4 separate regions of the Homo sapiens genome follow, and all the other regions are linked to region 4. Evidence: promoter capture Hi-C in 16 types of primary human blood cells and fetal thymus (Javierre and others, 2016). All regions are on one chromosome and are shown on one strand. Each heading gives the region's core, a stretch centred on a gene start or on the middle of the fragment in contact. The rest is flanking DNA. Distances are from core to core; before and after follow the strand shown. Region 1 overlaps SNAPC1 (small nuclear RNA activating complex polypeptide 1). Region 2 overlaps LOC101927702 (a long non-coding RNA gene). Region 3 has its middle 4.7 kb from the start of LINC02322. Region 4 holds the start of TRMT5 (tRNA methyltransferase 5).

The links. The method cuts DNA at HindIII sites, captures the fragments that hold promoters and counts their contacts. A CHiCAGO score of 5 or more calls a contact.
Region 1: a contact is called between a fragment that was not itself captured here and the fragment with the promoter of TRMT5 in region 4, in 1 of 17 cell types (fetal thymus). The highest score is 7.8, in fetal thymus.
Region 2: a contact is called between a fragment that was not itself captured here and the fragment with the promoter of TRMT5 in region 4, in 1 of 17 cell types (activated CD4 T cells). The highest score is 5.1, in activated CD4 T cells.
Region 3: a fragment that was not itself captured here is called in contact with the fragment with the promoter of TRMT5 in region 4 in 3 of 17 cell types (naive CD8 T cells, total B cells and total CD8 T cells); the score reaches 6.4 in naive CD8 T cells.

The regions. Positions count from the first base shown.
Region 1 is chr14:61,764,860-61,769,294 of GRCh38, reverse strand. It overlaps SNAPC1 (small nuclear RNA activating complex polypeptide 1), which reads right to left. Exons shown (of 10, transcript NM_003082.4): 2 at 2,260-2,419; 3 at 1,943-2,083; 4 at 555-659. Among named protein-coding and RNA genes, the nearest start is that of SNAPC1, 4.7 kb to the right of the region's middle. The HindIII fragment of the contact is 1,111 bases long and covers 2,378-3,488 here.
Region 2 is chr14:60,240,667-60,245,167 of GRCh38, reverse strand. LOC101927702 (a long non-coding RNA gene) reads left to right here. Exons shown (of 3, transcript NR_188027.1): 2 at 2,298-2,405. Among named protein-coding and RNA genes, the nearest start is that of PPM1A, 6.3 kb to the left of the region's middle. The HindIII fragment of the contact is 1,366 bases long and covers 2,104-3,469 here.
Region 3 is chr14:60,325,806-60,330,014 of GRCh38, reverse strand. No RefSeq gene overlaps it. Among named protein-coding and RNA genes, the nearest start is that of LINC02322, 4.7 kb to the right of the region's middle. RefSeq lists a silencer at 1,787-2,096 and an enhancer at 2,207-2,266. The HindIII fragment of the contact is 1,908 bases long and covers 1,437-3,344 here.
Region 4 is chr14:60,979,736-60,984,215 of GRCh38, reverse strand. TRMT5 (tRNA methyltransferase 5) reads left to right here and starts at 3,137. Exons shown (of 5, transcript NM_020810.3): 1 at 3,137-3,253; 2 at 4,330-4,480. The coding sequence starts at 3,243. SLC38A6 (solute carrier family 38 member 6) reads right to left here and starts at 2,971. Exons shown (of 16, transcript NM_153811.3): 1 at 2,834-2,971; 2 at 1,578-1,708. The coding sequence starts at 2,938. RefSeq lists an enhancer at 2,868-3,247. The HindIII fragment of the contact is 5,504 bases long and covers 167-4,480 here.

The DNA of each region.
Region 1 (4,435 bases), core at 1,684-4,183, 790 kb before region 4:
AACCTCTACCTCTGGGGTTTGTGATTCTCCAGCCTCAGCCTCCCCAGTAGCTGGGACCACAGACGTGCGCCACCATGCCCAGCTAACTTTTGTATTTTTAGTAGAGACGGGATTTCACCATATTGGCCAGGCTAGTCTCAAACTCCTGACTTCGTGATCCACCCACCTCGGCCTCCCAAAGTGCTGAGATTACAGGTGTGAGCCACCATGCCTGGTCATGTATATTGTTTTTTTAAAAAAGTAAGTAAAGTCACTTTAAACTCTTGTTTTATGACCTAACTAAAGTCAAATACAAACAATAGTTTTAGTAACAGAATCCACACATCTTCAGTCCAGGTCCAGTCTTCTACATCTTTTTTTCTCACGCTATTTCAAGATTTGTAAGCCTTGATATATTTAGGCTATTTTATGTCTGATACTCTAGAGAAATAGCATCCTAGAGTGGTTAAAATCATTAGAAAAATCAGTATCCAGTAGATGAAGGTATAACCTCAATATGTAGTTGGCAATAAAACAATTTTTAAAAATTTTCAAGAGCATAAAAGAAAATTTACCTCTAATACATCAGAAGTGATAAGTTTCATCACACGATCACTTGGGTCCTTAAATTCTTCTGTAACTTCAGCTCGGTGAATTTTTTTCTTCATCCTATATGACAGCTATGTGATAATACGTGTCTTTTTAAATGAGTATCTTTTAAACAGTATTGTTAAAAGTATTGAAATATAAGCCAGCACTAAAAATTGTCTATAAGTAAACACAGATAAAACAAAACCAGCTGTAAGGGTACATCTGTTAAATATCCACGTTCCAAAGACTGTTAGACTTGTGAAGTATCCTCTCACATGCCATGCCACATGCCTACAAATTCAGATAAGACAGAAATTACATAATTTGCCAGCTAATGGCAGAACCAGAACTAGTGCTCTTCAACCTAGTGTCTCAATTACCACTAGATTAAAAAAAAACAAATGCTATTAGAAGTTTCAACTTTTCACCAAAGAATTTTTAACAATTTTGTACGTCTTTCAGTAACCTCCTCTGATGTTTGAGACATGAGCAAATGCAGATGCCAAATCTAATTTGTTCTCAAAACAGTTCGCTTAATATGTGGCACCCAGATACACTGCATTTAAAAAGCAAAGGCTAAATTTTTGCTTGCAGAAAAAAAAGTAGTAATTAGAAAATACCTTCTCCTATTTTAAAAAAGCTACAAGGCCGGGCATGGTGGCTCACCTGAGGTGAGCAGCACTTTGGGAGGCTGAGGCGGGTGGATCACCTGAGGTCAGGAGTTCAAGACCAGCCTGACCAATATGGTGAAACCCCATCTCTACTAAAAATACAAAAATTAGCTAGGCGTGGTGGAGGGCGCCTGTAGTCCCAGCTACTCAGGAGACTGAGACAGGAGAATTGCCTGAACCCTGGAGGCGGAGGTTGCAGTGAGCTGAGATAGCACCACTGTACTCCAGCCTGGGCGACAGGGCAAGACTCTGTATCAAAAAGGCACACACACACAAAAAAAGTTACAAGCCAGGCCGGGCGCAGTGGCTCACGCCTGTAATCCCAACACTTTGGTAGGCCAAGGTGAGTGGATCACGAGGTCAAGAGATCAAGACCATCCTGGACAACATGGTGAAACCTTGTCTCTACTAAAAATACAAAAATTAGCTTGGTGTGGTGGCGCATGCCTGTAGTCCCAGCTACTCAGAAGGCTGAGGCAGGAAAATCCCTCGAACCCGGGAGGCGGAGGTTGCAGTCAGCCGAGATGGTGCCACTGCACTCCAGCCTGGGCGACAGAGCAAGACTCTGTCTAAAAAAAAAAAAAGCTAAAAGTCTTGAACACTATCAATACTTATTCCATTTTCTGGAGATTGAGAGGTTTTATGGACAATAAAGTATAATTGCTCATTTTGAAAAAACCAAATTATTTTAGGCAACATACCAATTTGGGCATTGCTGTAAAGTGAAATGCTCTGTCTAGTCGTAGCTTCCTAAAAATATAAGCTGCATCAAAATGCTGTGCATTTACTAAATCTTGCTGAAATTTTAAAACTTCATCCCAATCCTTCAGGGCAACTCTGATCTGCAACCAGGAAGAAAAAAAAGTTGTACTAAATGTAAATATTTTTTCACAAACATATTATAATTTTAAAATACTGGCATTTTATTTAAATCATATTTAATCATATAATATTTATTATAAAAATATGGTACTTGTTTTACATTTCTGCTAAGGAAAAATAACTCACTAAGTATTACCTTTTGTTTTGGTTGACACAGTTGGGTATTATATAATCCATATAGCAGATACAAAGCACCAACTCTGATCTGGAAGGTGTATGGAGGTAAAAAATATCGCCAAGCCAAAGCTAAAGCTTCTTTTGTAAACATGTTCTTTTCTAAATTTCTCATTCTGCCACTAATAAACAGAGAGAAAATATATTACGACTCATTAAGTGAATAAGTAATGAACAAAAGCCAAAAGTATATACTTGTTTAAACGGTAGTTATAATTTGATGAGGATTCCATACCTGATTCTTTCATGATTCAAGCACAAAGAGATAATTTTACACCAAGGCAAAGGCAACTACTAGGTAAACATGACGCAGCTTCCAAAAGCATCAACTTTACTTGCCAAATTGAAGAGCAAGAAGGAAGGGGTTTCAAATTACTATTGGTTAAATATTTAAAACCCATAATGTTAAAATAATCATGGTTATGTTACAGAACTATGTGCATTTTAATATACAATTGCCAAAAATGCTTGTTCTTTGGTGCTATAAAGAAGTATCACTTGAACGTAAATTTTATTTCTTCAGCAAGGCCATTTTTTTACTTTCTGCACAAAAGGGTACAGTCGCCAGCAGTTTTGCTACACTGAACAAAGGAGACAGGGTCATTTATAACTTGACACATCTACTTTACTGCTGTGTCCGGTTTCTATTGGCTGGAACGGGACTTCACATTCTGTATCTGTCTTCATTGACTAGCAACTTAGAACTTGAAGTAACTTGTGGAATGCTGAGAAAGGTAAAAACACTTTTAAATAAGGAAGAAGAACAGGCTATGACTTAATGCTTGCTTGGACCAGTATAAGCACGCCAGGGCAAATATTTAGGCTAAATTGTGGGAGCTAAGAACATAAAATACACTGATTTCTTTATTACAGCTAGCAGATATTTAAGAATGTTAGCATAGGTCTTTGAATAAATTTTGCTTCTAAGATAAGTTACTATTTAGTCTTAATTAGATGGGGAGGAAACTCTTTGAAGCAGAACCTCTACTTTACTTTTTACCTAACGAACATTTTCTCCAATACTCTCAGGGATTTGCACTAAATCTCCTCTGTCCTTGCGAAGCCGAGGCGAAAAAGATAGAGAAACAGCACAAAGTAACCCGCACTCCTAATTGTCCAGAGCACTGCAAGCTCATCAGAAGAAAGGAGGAGGAAGGGAGAAGAGCATACTCCAGCATACAACCAAAAGCTTTGTCCAAACATCCAAGAGAGCAACAAGGCTTTGTTGGCAATCAATCAATGAAATAACATAGGAAATGTACATGAAAGGAAAGTATCTTGGGCACCCAAGATCACTAAGGAAAACTCAAGCTGGAAACTGCTTAGGGCAAACCTCTCCCATTCTATTCAAAGTGACTTCTCGGCTCACTGAGATAGATGCATATCTGATTTGCCTCCTTTGGAAAAGCTAATCAGAAACTCAAAAGAACGCAAGCATTTGTGTATCACCAATCTGTGACCTGAAAGCTCCCTCCCCACTTCCAGTCTTCCTGCCTTTGCTTCAAGTTGTCCCGCCTTTCCAGAACGAACCAACGTACTTCTTGCATATATTGATTGATGTCTCATGTCTCCCTAAATGTACAAAACCAAGCTGTGCCCTGACCACCTTGGGCGCATGTCAACACGACTTCCTGAGGCTGTGTCACGGGTGCGTCCTCAACCTTGGCAAAATAACCTTTCTAAATTAACTGAGACGTGTCTCAAATTTTCGAGGTTCACATATATTTTCTGTGGATATAAACAGCATAATGAATAAACTATCTGAAACTGTTCTGCTGTGCTAAGTTAACAAAAAATTTTAAAAAACAAGGCCTTAAAAAAGTCAATGTAACAGTCTTCTTACCACTTTGGATAAAACAATGAAGCCACATTTGTGCATATTATAGGTTTCTATGTAAGACCTGAAATTAGTAGATAAAAAATGCCAGATTTTAAATAAAACATTAGCTAAAATAAATGTCTCAAAGTGTTGATGCGAGTGACTAATACGCTATACAAATATAAATATGTAGAACTTTTACTTTAAAACCAGCAACAAACAATAAAGACATTTGCCCTGCAGCCATAAACACGGGCTCTATTATATCTGATTACAATGCAGGGGTGGAAGGGAAGGGGGTAGTAGGAGGACATTTTGG
Region 2 (4,501 bases), core at 1,537-4,036, 740 kb after region 4:
GTAGAGGGGTCAGCATGGGCAAAGGGCCTGATGTGGAAAAGAGCTTGGCAGAAAAGAGTTTCTTACAGCCCAAAGACAAGTTCAGCAAACTCAAGGCAAATAGTTTATGGTCATTTAAGTTTCGAGAGTGTTTCAACGTGGACATTAGGGATATTTAATTTATAATCAGGAAACTACATTATGTGCACGGGTATAATCCATAGAAAATAACTTGGTGAGTTGGTCTGGTGCAAAAAGCAAAGCAACTTTTTTAAAAATTGAAATTAAAAATAGTCTGGGTGCAGTGGCTCACACCTGTAATCCCAGCACTTTGGAAGGCCAAAGCGAGTGGATCACTTGAGGCCAGGAGTTCAAGACCAGCCTGGCCAACATGGGGAAACCCCGTCTCTACTGAAAATACAAAATTAGCCACACCTGGTGGCACACGCCTGTAATCCCAGCTACTTGGGAAGCTGAGGCAGGAGAATCGCAGGCAGGAGAATCACTGGAACTCAGGAGGTGGAGGTTGCAGTGGGCCGAGATCATGCCCCTGCACCCTAGCCTGCATGACAGAAAAAAAAACACCTTTATTCAACTATTGAAATTGAGAAGTATTCCATAACTCCAGGAAAGACCCGTCAGACAATCCAGCAGCAGCTAGAAAAGAGTGAATTATAAGCTTCAAATAAATAGTTTTCATCCCAATATAGGTACCTATTTGTGCTAAGTAAAGACTAGCACAGATTTGAGTGGGCTTCTTCAGAACAATTCTTCTGGGTGTTTACTGTCTATCCTGGGCATTACAGAAGATCTCAAACTAAACCATACTTTTGAAAGCAGCGACACACTGCATCCTTAACAATGGTGGCCTGGTTGAAAACAGTAATGAAATTGTCATCATCATAAAGCCTTTTATCTGAACCTGACTCTGCAGTTTACAAAGCACTATCATACAGACTAACCAGTTTAATCCTCTCAAAAACCCTTGCAGGTAGACAGGGCAAGGACTCTTAATCTCCTCCTTTATAGAAGAGAAAACTAAGCATCTGGTAGTAACTACCCAGGGTCACAGAAATTAATGACGGGTACCCAGGTTTGTCCCCCGTACGATACTGAGCATCATTGCTTTTACATGCTGGTAGTAAAGGCAGCAGGAGTGGAAAGAGTGCTGAACTTAGTTCCAGTCCGTGGTGTGGAGAGCTGGCCTATACTGGCTCATGACAGCAGATTATTAAATTTTCAGAAATTTTGCCTGCTGTTTGTTAAATACTCATTATTAAAAATTAAATGATATAGGCTGGGTGCAGTGTCTCATGCCTATATTCCCAGCACTTTGGGAGGCTGAGGTGGGTGGATCACCTGAGATCAGGAGTTTGAGATCAGCCTGGCCAACATGGTGAAACCCCGTCTCTACTAAAAATACAAAAATTAGCCAGGTGTGGTGTCGGGAGCCTGTAATCCTAGCTACTTGGGAGGCTGAGGCAGGAGAATTGCTTGAACCCAGGAGGCAGAGGTTGCAGTGAGCTGAGATTGCGCCATTGCACTCCAGCCTGGGTGACAAGGTGAGACTCCATCTCAAAAATCAATCAATAAATAAATATAAAAATAGAAATAAAAATTAAGTTAGATAAACTTCCAATGAAATAAATTTTAAACAAAGGTAGTATGTGATAAAAACATCACTTCCAAATTATGTTAATACATTTTAATATTGTCTTTGTTCTTTAGGCAATTTACATGCATTGTGTCTGCATGGTGGAAATTCCCTATATGTAATTGTACATCTCTTCCCAATACCACATTTAGTGAGTTTTCTTTGGTAGCTTGATCAGCGGACACCACAGATGAGGGCTTCACTTATTGCTTTGCTGGTTGTGGGCTAGACCAGGGTTGTCCAATCTTTTGCTTCCCTCGGCCACATTGGCAGAAGAAAAATAGTCTTGGGCCACACATAAAATACGCTAACACTAATGATAGCTGATGAGCTAATACAAAACAAAACGAAACAAAATCACACACACACACAAAATCTCACATTTTAAGAAAGTTTACGAATTTGTGTTGGGCTGCATTCAAAGCCATCCTGGGCTGTATGCGGCCCACAGGCCCAGGGTTGGACAAGCTTGGTCTAGGCTTAAGTGACAGAGAAAATGTTTTATGCAGATTAAATGTAAAAGACATGTCGTGTCTATAACTGTTACATGGTGAATAGCATAAAAACATTCAATTTAGCAATGAAGTCACATCATTGACTAATAAGCTCTAACATACATTTTTGTTGTTTTATTTTTATCTTAAATGAAAATATTAACCAATAGCCATGTTGGAACTACATTTGGAAAGGTGGTTGTTAAACATTTCCCAGCACACACCTGGATCTGCATCTGCTGTGTCAATTGAACCACTCACTGGTTCTGTGACCTCAGGCAAGTCATTTAAATTATAAGCCTTGGTTTTATCCTCCACAGAATACTTCCTCCTAAAATGTGTTGTGAAAATTAGAATAGATGAAGGCACCCTTGAAAAGATGACTGATGCGGTTGGTTGCCCCACCACTTCCTACTACTTGGCAGAGCCTCCTCGTTGGCAGATCCTTCTCTCACTAGAGCATGTATATGGATGCATGCTCTCTCACCCTCCCTTGTAGCTTAGAGCAGAGCATACCAATCTATGTGCCAGCATACCCTGGTATGTCTCAGATGGGTCATAGATGTGATAAGGTATGGATCCCTTAAGCCCTTGGGACATTCAAGTGAGGCTGAGCTGCTGAAGCCCTGGGATGGTATGACTGGCCACAAGCAACATTACCCAGGTACCCCTCTGTGTCACAAAAACGTTATCTTTGTATTTGTGTCATGGTGTGAAAAAATTGAGAAGCACTGCCTGGGGACATAGTGAGGTAGCCCAATTCTGGATAAAGGAAATTGAGAAGTCTTGAGGGGGTAGAGAGGTTTTCTTCCCTAATAAGAAGAATCACAGGAGAGAAAATGCCTTCCTCAGCCATATGTTGTTATTTCTATATGTGAGCCTGGAATTTCAAGGTTATCTTGCAAAGAACCAAGGCAATGTAGAGAAAAGAATTGATAGCAAGTGGCTGGATCTTTCACATTGTAAAGCCATTGAGCCATCCGTGCAATTGCCCACCTTGGGAATTTATTTTTAAGAGTGATAATAAATGCTCCTCATTGTTTAAACTACTTTGATTTTTGTATTTGGTTATTCATAATTAAAAACACCCAAATACAGTAGAAGAACTGGTACATCCCTGACACCTAATGAGTGCTCAATATGGTTAGTTAATCACCAAATTAGATCCTTTGCCTTTAGAAAAGCTGCCATGGTCAAATGTGTGTTGATCTTATTTTTCGTAAATATTTAAGAAATTTGTTCAGTAACTAGCTTAACTTTTAATATTTATCTTGAGTCTCTTCTAAATATGTTTTTACTGTATAATAAAAGCAATAATTGAAAAATGACATCATTTTAAGCTTGAGAGCAACTAGATACAAAGATGTTGATATGCATTTTCTCTTCTTGAAGGATCTAGACAAACTGGAGCACCATTACATGAAAAAGGTTAAAGAATCAATGTTTTGCAAAATAGAACTGGAATTAATTCATGGGAATTACAGAGAAGATCATATTAGTTCAATATAAAAAGAGGGCCTAGAATGTGCCAAGCTCCATACAATGCCCCTCATGAGTGTTATTTAATTCTCACAACAACTTTGCAAAAAAGAAACTATTTTTTTTTCCATTTTACAAAGGAGGAAGCTAAGGCTGTGAAAAAGAGCTCTTTTGCAAGCCTAGGACCTGATTCCAAAATTCCCACTCTTTCTGTTGCAAATTCTGGCTAAGCTTTCCAGAGATGACTTGCTTTCCCCTTGAGGCCCTTTCAGTGCATTGTGCCATGGAAAACAAAAAGCCCAACAATGACATCTTTACCAAAGATGCCTTGGGGAGATGGGAGAAGAGTTACAATGCACATTACACAGCAAAATCTTTTTTAAGCTCCAAGTAAAATTGGTTTTTTCTTAGAGTTTTGCTTCCAGCAGTCACTTCCTCCATTCTCCTGCTCTCTCCACGTGAGGAAAACTTCTATCCTGCCTTCTCCTAATACACTTTCCTGTTTTTTTTTTCCTGCACATTTCTTAAAAATCCCACATAAGGCAAAAGCCAAGACAATATCCATCAACACCTCCACCCCCACCGCATGTCCATGGAGAGCTTCAAGTCATCCTGCCGCTGGTACAAACACGGCAGAGGCCTCTTTGTAAAGAAGTGGTAGGTAGAATTCAGGTTAGCACCAGAATCTGAAAACTCCAGCTCCTTTGACTGGGACCAGGCTGGTAATATAAATGTTAGATCAGGCTGGGTCTGACACAATGGGGATCAGTAGAGCATACTTGTCACATTTGAAGGCATTCAGAAAAATAATAACCTTAAAACATTCTAAACATGTTGCAATCAAAGAGGATACCCCTTGACCACTGCACGAATTGGAGTTCAAAGATCATCTCTC
Region 3 (4,209 bases), core at 1,141-3,640, 650 kb after region 4:
TTGAGGTCAGGAGTTCCAGACCAGCCTGGCCAACATGGTGAAACGCTGTCTCTACTAAAAATACAAAAATTAGCCAGGCGTGGTAGCAGAGGCCTGTAATCCCAGCTACTCAGGAGACTGAGGCAGGAGAATTGCTTGAGCCCAGGAGGTGGAGTTTGCAGTAATCACGACATTGCACTCCAGCCTTAATAAGCAATTGGTAAAATACTTACCCACTGTACCATAATAAATTACTATTGCTGTAGCCAAAAGCAAATAAATTTGAAAGGTAGGTTAGTTTCTTCTGGCTTATCTAAGGTGGATATACAATGACTTTCAGGCTTTGGAAATCATTGAAACATAGCTCTTGGATCCTGTGGCAGAGATAAGGGAATCATTCCAAAACCTGGCCACAGAATTGAAGCTGTGTAAGGAGGGAAGTGAGGACATGATGAGGGTGAGGGAGAATTTAAAAGGTGGTAGGGTTAACAGAACATGGTCCCAGGGAAGTTGAGTACCAGAGGCCCTGCATTTTCCATGTGACCTAAGGGTTCCCAGAAATGGAGACAGGAAGTCCATGTTTCTTAATGCCTCACAGTCAAACTCCTACTTTACACAAACCCACGTTACTGGGGAAAGGTTCGCATGTGGCCAAAGCACCCTCCACCAGATAAATGCATAAAAAAGGAATTAAAACTTTATTCTATTCTTTCAAACATAAGGGTTCCTCCATCAGGTATGCCTTTTTCTTGGCAATTACTGAATAATCACAATGATAGCTTCACATGTATGGAGGACCCTCAGTGTGTCAGAATTCTTGTTAAGTCAAAAGGAATAATTCTATTTACAGGAAACAAAGGCAGCCCATTGTCAGGCTGACACTGTCCACAGATTTTATCCATGTAGCTTGCTTCTTGCAAACTCCACGCAGGCAGGGATTCTTACCTGTTTTGTTCAGGTTCCAAGCACCTGGGCTTAGCACATAGAAGGCTCTTAAACATTTGTTAAATGAATGAATGAACCTCAACCTTTCTCACCTTCAGTGAAAAGCACTGCAAGGTGATTGAGGAGAAAATAAGGAAGCCTTAGTCCCTGACATTTGTTGAGAAAGGGGTCGAGGAGATGATGAGGGGTGGGGAGAGGAGGCTTTTCCCATGGAACTCTCCAACACTGCTGCAGAAAGCCAAGCACATGACATGCACCACACGACCCCTAGGTGGTGGTCCTTGCAGCCGATTTCAGAGACCATAGCCCCAAAAGTGCAGAGGGTTCCTCTGTTCCCTCTCCTTGGACAGTTCCCATTAGTCTGTCTGGCCTTACCTTTCTAAAGAAATTTGCCGCTTGAAAATCACAGTGATGTACGTTATTGAGTCCCCAGAACTCTCAATCCCCTCTGTTTTTGCCCATCCCAAGCCCAAACTGGCAAGCTCTCTTTCTGCCCGATCTTCCAGGAAGCTTCCCCAACTGCCACAGTCCTGTCCAATTTCACTGAATTTTATTATTTTCAATAGACATATTTTTTAAATGTCTCTCTAAAAGCGACTTAAGATTATTATGTAAGATTTTTATAAGATTATTAACTTTGTAAGATTTTGCCCATCTGAATCAATCTCCAAATCATAGAAAAAATGTTATTGACCTGATAATCGTGTTTCAATCCGGGGTTTGGAAAAGATGTTCACCACATGGAAATCATGGCTAAGACCCATTTCGCACAAAATGCACACTCAGGCATGGTTCAGTATCACGGTGCAGTGTGTGCGTGTCGGGTACCTCACCAGCCACACTTCGGCTTTGTAAAGGTGGGTTGGGGAGCCGAGTCCTCCCATCCTTTCACAGCCCCCGCAGGCCCTGGGTGAATGCTGGTCTAGTGAATTCACAGCTCCCGGGCAACTCCCAGCCGCGAGGCGGGGCGGCAGGGTGGAGGGAGCCACCCGCGGAGAGGCCTCGACCCCCACCCCAGCGAAGCCTAGGGCCGGGGAGCTGCACCTCGGCGCACCCCGCCTGGCGCCCTGAGCCCGCGTGGGCCCGGGCCGGGTTTGCGGGGAGGCAGCTCGGCTCCCGGAGGTCCTCCCGCAGGCGGCGCCCTCCGAGCCAGGCGCGAAGTGCACCCAGGCCCCGCAGCCCAGCGCCGCGTGGCCATCCAGAGGGATTTGTCAGCGCGCCCTATATAGCCGCAGACAGCTGCCATCTGTTATGTTTAGTAACACCACCACGCCGCTCCCCCTTCCTTGAGAATAAACCCGCCTTGGTCATTAAGCCACGAGGATATTTTTTTAACGACTCCCACTCCCTCTTGCAAGCAGTCTTAGCTCATCAGTCCGGGTCTGAGTCTTGAGCGCCCAATTCTGCTTCCTCACTGCGTCCTGGGCGCTCTCTGAGCTGGACGAGCCATCCACTGTGGGCTTGGGCCCCGGGCAGGTGCTTACAGGAAAAGGCGGAGACAGCGCCTCCCTCCATGGGTGCAGCGAGGAGAAAAATCCGTGGTGTGTGACCATTTTAATGCATCGCATTTCAGTTCTGCAAATGCAAAGTGTAAATTAGGCTAGAACATGATTGTGAATCAGACCAGACGTCATGATTAATTTATCACTGTGCTCCAGATACATCAGCTAAAATAATATGAATTTAAAGTAACGGTTCCTCCCGCCTTTGTGTTTGCTGGTGAACTCTAAAGAATAGATCACTAGAGAAATAAAGGAACTTAAGAGTCCACTCTATTCTCGTATTAGCGGAGCATGAACATAATTAAACATTCTCAATAAGGTTTCTTCCACCGTTTGAAATTAAATTTGCCCACCCACATTTTGTATCCGTCTGTGTAACACTCACTGATGCACCCTGAGCTGCTGATAAACATTGAGGCGGAGATTAGCTTTTTCATATTTCAGGTAACATTTATGATGCCTCAAGTTCTGGTTCCCAAACTGGCTGATTATCAAAATTGTCTAGGGCCTTGCCACTAAAAGTGTGGTCCATGAAGTAGCGGCACGGTATCACTTTTGAGATCGTTAGGAATGCAGAATCTCAGGCCCTACTCAGACCTGTTGATGGGAGTCTAAATTTTTTACAAGACCTGCCCTCACCACATCACCACCCCCATTAAAGTTTGAGAAGAATTGATGTAGTTTTTTAAAAACCACAAATACCTTTGCTCAGACATCTATATATGTTTAGTAAGCAGCCGAGTTGATTCTTATAAGTTGAGTTGTCAAGTTTGGAGGTCACTGGTCTTTGAGGCTCAAGGTTCAGATGACTTTTATGCTGATGACATGAACCAAATTTATTAAATCAGTGGAACTCTCTCTGAAAGTTTGGTACAGGTGAGTTTATCTGTTTAGTCATCCATGAATTACAAGAAAGCTTATTAATTATTTAGTTAAATAATGACACATTTAGTCCTCCAATTAGGAAAGCTCAACACTAGGAAGGAGGATTTTCTCCTTATGTAACTGGCTCATTCACTCCCAGACTGAGTGTAGGCATGAGGAAATCTTTTGCTTGGCCATCAAAGCCGCCCCCACCCCCTTCGAATGTTCTGACTTTCTTTATAACAGTACCTTTCATTCAGAAGAATACAAACATCCCTTGTGCTGCTGTTCAGTGATGTTGAGGGCTGTACTGGAGGACTGTGTCTAGTTCTGGACCTCACAATAAAAGAGGGATGTGGGGACCTTGGCAAAGGTTCAGAAGATATTTGTAAAGGTTATTTTTTAAATTCAGAATGAATCTTCACATTGTGTGGCATTATCTATAAAATGGACATGAAATGAACTTTGACTGTAGCTTGAGATTTTTACTTTAAGAGAAAAGCAATTGTAGAAATAAGTGGAGGAAGAAGAAAGAATGTCTCTTGAGCACAAGTTCTCACCTTGTGCATTAGTTACAATGACCTGGAGAAATTTTTTAAAACCCCAATGCCAGTTAAGTTGGGGGAGTCTTTGTGGTTGGGACCTGAGCATCAATAGTTTTTCAAGTACTCCAGGTGATTCCAATGCACAGCTCCTGAGCAGTGCTGCTGCAACTTTAATGTCATTGGCACCACCTGGGAAGTTTGTTAAAATGCAGATTGTGGCCGGTGCAGTGGCTCACACCTGTAATCCAAGCATTCTGGGAGGCCAAGATGGGCAGATCACTTGAGGCCAGGAGTCTGAGATCAGCCTGGACAACATGGCAAAAACCTGTCTCTACTAAAAATACAAAAAGTAGCTGGGTATGATGGTGCATGCC
Region 4 (4,480 bases), core at 1,888-4,387:
CTCCAAACCAAACTAAATTAAAATAATGTAGTTAACACACCTCTAATGATGCAATTTGAAAAATGTGCAAACAATGTAATGATTGAGGTCCTCTCACCAACAGTGTGAAAGAAAAAACTTAGATAATTTCCTATTCATTTTTAGGAAGACACCAGCAGGACAAGCTTCTATACAGCTATCCCCAGTGAACTGCCCCAGTCATTGAAGAAATTTTCTCTCTGTGGTCCAGTTAATACTTGTTAATAAATAAAATTGAGAGGTAAAAGTACAAATGTCATTAAACTGACATCAGGAACTTCACAAAATAACACTTTAGCATCACCAAAAATGATGGTTGCTATGACTGGGTGAGCACACATTCAGCAGTATATATCTGCATGTAAGACCCTGGTGCATAAATTATGATTTTTCAAAGAGAATCAAAAAAAAAGTCCTCTGACTATGTCTTGCTTAAGGTGTCACATATAGTTTTTAATTTTAAAAATAATGAAAGTTTGTGAGTACATTCCATAATAAAAGCAAGTTGGGTTACTTAAAAGTTGCTTTGCTTATCAAAAAATTTGGAATAAAAGCAGGAAATAAACATAAAAGAGACTCCCTAGGCATTTTAAATTTCCTAGTAAATAGATCTGCTTCTACTGACAAAGCCAATTTGTTAATTCATTCTATTAGCCATGTGGTGCTAGATGCTAAGAATAAGGTCCAGTTATAAAGGATTTTTCTATTTTTTAAATTTTTTAGACAGGATCTCACTCTGTCACCCAGGCTAGAGTGCAGTAGCCCAATCATGGCTCACTGCAGCCTCAACCTCTCAGGCTCAAGCAGTCCTCCCAAGTAGCTAGGACTACAGGCGCACTCCACCATACCAGGCTAATTTTTGTATTTTGGGCAGAGATGGGGTTTCACCATCTTGCCCAGGTTGGTCTCAAACTCGTGGGTTCCAGTGATCCGCCTGCCTTGACCTCCAGTTGTAAAGGATTTCAGTTTAGTGGGAACATTAATTTCCAAACATATCATTGTAACAATTATAATAACAGAATGAATATACAAAGTACTATGAAAGCACAGAATATCCAGGATTGTCTTCTATTTTGGGCAAACTGGCCTACAAGCTAAGTCCTGAAACATAAAAAAGAACAGGCACAAAACACATGTCTGGCCTCTGAAAGTGAAATAAGACTACTTAACAATACAAAGAGACAGCGAGGAATGAAAAGATTATGTGTTGTATTTGCACTCACAAAATTGCTATTTGGAAGTTAATCTGCATGGCTTTGATTCACTTTGGCCAAGGAGATACAATGAATATGCCACTCTTAAGTGTCATATTTCATTATAAATGAAATGTGGATCAAGTTCCCATTTTTAAAAACTAGTCACACTTCTGTGTATTTAAGAAGCTATGTAGTAGCCCTCCAAGGTACACACTAGCAACAAGAATAACAAGAAAAATGCTAAAACCCCAGAAATAACTAACTAGAAATTGTATAATAGCAGCTTCTGGAATCTATCTCTCTACTTCTCCGTATATTATCAAAATGGAAAAAAAAATTTGATGCTAAAATATGAAGACTCACCTAAATCCAAAGACACCGGTATTAGCCAAAACATAAGCTAAGCCAAGGATGCCACTTCCCATGATGGCATTCATCAAATTAAACACTGATAAACCAAATGAAACACCTGGGGATCGCTGTCTGTGAAGTTCCTGTAAGCACACAAATTTAGTAGTGTTAAATGTTTGGACGGTGAAGTTAAAATTTCGTAAAGAAATTCCATAAATGAAAGATTATGGAAAAAAGCTGCAAACCACCAGGGTTTGTATGACACACTCGTTGCTTAACCAACACTAATTTCCTTTCCTTTCCTTCCCACCTCCCACTACTGCAGCTCCAGGAATCTAGGGTTTCTTAGGAAAATGATTTCCACCAGTACACAAGACAGGCAGAGTTCAGGAAGGGCCATGACTAACCTTGTGACTGCAAGAGATGAAGATAGGATGGGAATGGAGTGGGGAGAGAGAGGAGGGATAAGGCCTCAGCTCATGTGATTACTAAAGAATTGCTGAGTCAACCTGGGACTGCTGTGGGCAGTTGTTTCTCCTCAATTACTAGGACTGCACAACTAATCTCTACTTATATATCTAATGAATTAGTTCTACCAAACTGGAAGGATGGTCAGGAATATCTTGCAATGACAATATTATAAACAGAAGCAATTCACGTTGTTCTGGCAGTATCCCTGAAAACATCCCCCTCCCCACAAACAGCACCGGGAACAAAGTCCTGGGAACAGTGTCTAGGACTCGAGTTAAAAAGCGGAGTGCCCACTGCACAGGCTTTAGGGTCAGGAACGTGCTATGCACTTACTACCAAGCCACTTCCATTCTACCGCTAAGAATTTCTGTATTAAAATGTTTATTATTTTCCCTCCCCCCATGACTAAGTCGGAAGAGGAAAATCCTGTGACTCTTGCAAAGACCTCACGAGACTGGTGGAGAAAATAAGGTGACAAAAATACTAACTAACAGCAGTGAGTACATAATCCTAGGGCCGCTCATCCCATCATGTTCGCAGCTTCCACTCAACGCTGCATCTCTTCCACCCGACGCTTTTCATCTTTTCTTTCTAGAGTATGCTAGGCTGCTATCACGTTCATAACTGCGCCAATCTCATCTGAATCTCGGCGGCTGCCTTCAGACCCCATCCCCCAGGGTTCAGGCTCCAGCATCTCCCCTGTCCCGGTGCGGTCCTCCTTTTCTGGGTCTTATTTGGCAGGCACTTGAGGGAAGCCGGAGGGCGTCAGCGCGGGGAAGCGAACACAGCCCACTTACGTTGCTTAGCAACGGACTCAACTCTTCGGCCTCCGCTTCTTCAGGCTGCTGGACAGAGACATACCAGCCCCGCTCAGCGTTGAAGCTCCCCCAGGACGCCTCCATGCTGCTCTCCAGCTGACTACCAGTTCCATCTACGAGCCTCTACCCCTGCCCTGCGCTCCAGTCGTCGGTCGCGCCAGAGGCGGAGCTTTGAGCCCGGCCCTTCCGGCATTCCGTACTTCACCAGGGCCTGGAAGGAGAGGAGCGAGTCGACTTGATCTGATGACGCGCGCCCTCTTCGCGGCGAACAGTGATGATGTCATAGAAGACCCGCCCATCCACCCGCGACCCACATCCGATCGGTACCGGAGCGGGAGGTGAGGGGTCGGCTCGCGGATCCAGCTGCAGAGCGACGTGGGGAATTGGAATGGTGCTTTGGTGAGGTGGCGGCCGCGTTAGGGGCTAATGGTCCAGGGGAGGTACCAGCCCGCCCAGGGCTGCTCTCTGCCATGTGCTGCCTGGGCACAGAAACATCGCGAGGTCACCCACCCGCCTAGGTGCTGAGCTTAGTTTCGAGGTTCTGGATAGTAAGGAATGTTTCAAAAGCCTTTCGCCACATTTTACTGGTGGGAAAACCGAGACTTATAGTAATTTATCCAGGGTCACCCAGCTGGTCAGCTGCTAGAACCAATTTGATCTCTGACGGTGAAGTTAGACTTCGTTGCTTTACAGGATTCTGGGACAGGGCCCTTTCCCCTTACAAGTAAATTCTTTGGTATTTTAGAAGACAGTGAATAACTGATACTATGCATATAACAATCAGCAAAGCTCTCGTCCTCAAAATACAGAAGCCTCTAGTTAAAGGCAGGACATGTGGCAGTAAAGCATCGAAAACAAACAACAGAGCAATATATTAAGAACACAAGCACCGAAGTCAGTCAAAACTAGGTTTTAATCCATGTTTAGCCACTTATCAGCTGGGAGACTTTGGGTGGGTTACCTTACGTCTGAGCTTTAGTTTACTTATTTACAAAATGAGGGTGCAATACTGCACACCTCCCAAGATTCATAATGTACATAAAGCATTTAGCGCAGTATCTGACACAATAAGCACCCATGAGACTATCCTAATAAATATCACCACTAGTAATGGTCATGTATAATGACTATTTCATTTACAGATGACCATTTAACTCATACTTCAGTCTTCCAATCCCAAATGTATTATCTAGAAAATTGTGGGTGAAGAGGATCATTGAGTATGGCTAATGGATCACTAAGCCCTCTGAACTGGGAGCAGATGGGTTGAAGGTGTAAATTTAATATATACCACTATTATCTACCACTAATACGACTTCCTGAAGAAGTCATCCTAGTCTGGAAAAGATAGTATACTTCCCACACATCACTAAACGTTTTATTTGTCAGCATTTAGCCCGTTATTTGAGATAGTAGAATTTAGATTTTTATTCTCAAAAGCTGTCGTGTGTGAATTTTTTTTTTTTTTTTTTAAGGATCTTATGGAGGCCATTTGGATTCTCAGGAAGATTTCTGAAACTGGAAAGCCATAGCATAACTGAATCAAAATCGTTGATTCCAGTAGCTTGGACATCCCTGACACAGATGCTTTTGGAAGCACCTGGTATTTTCTTATTGGGTCAAAGA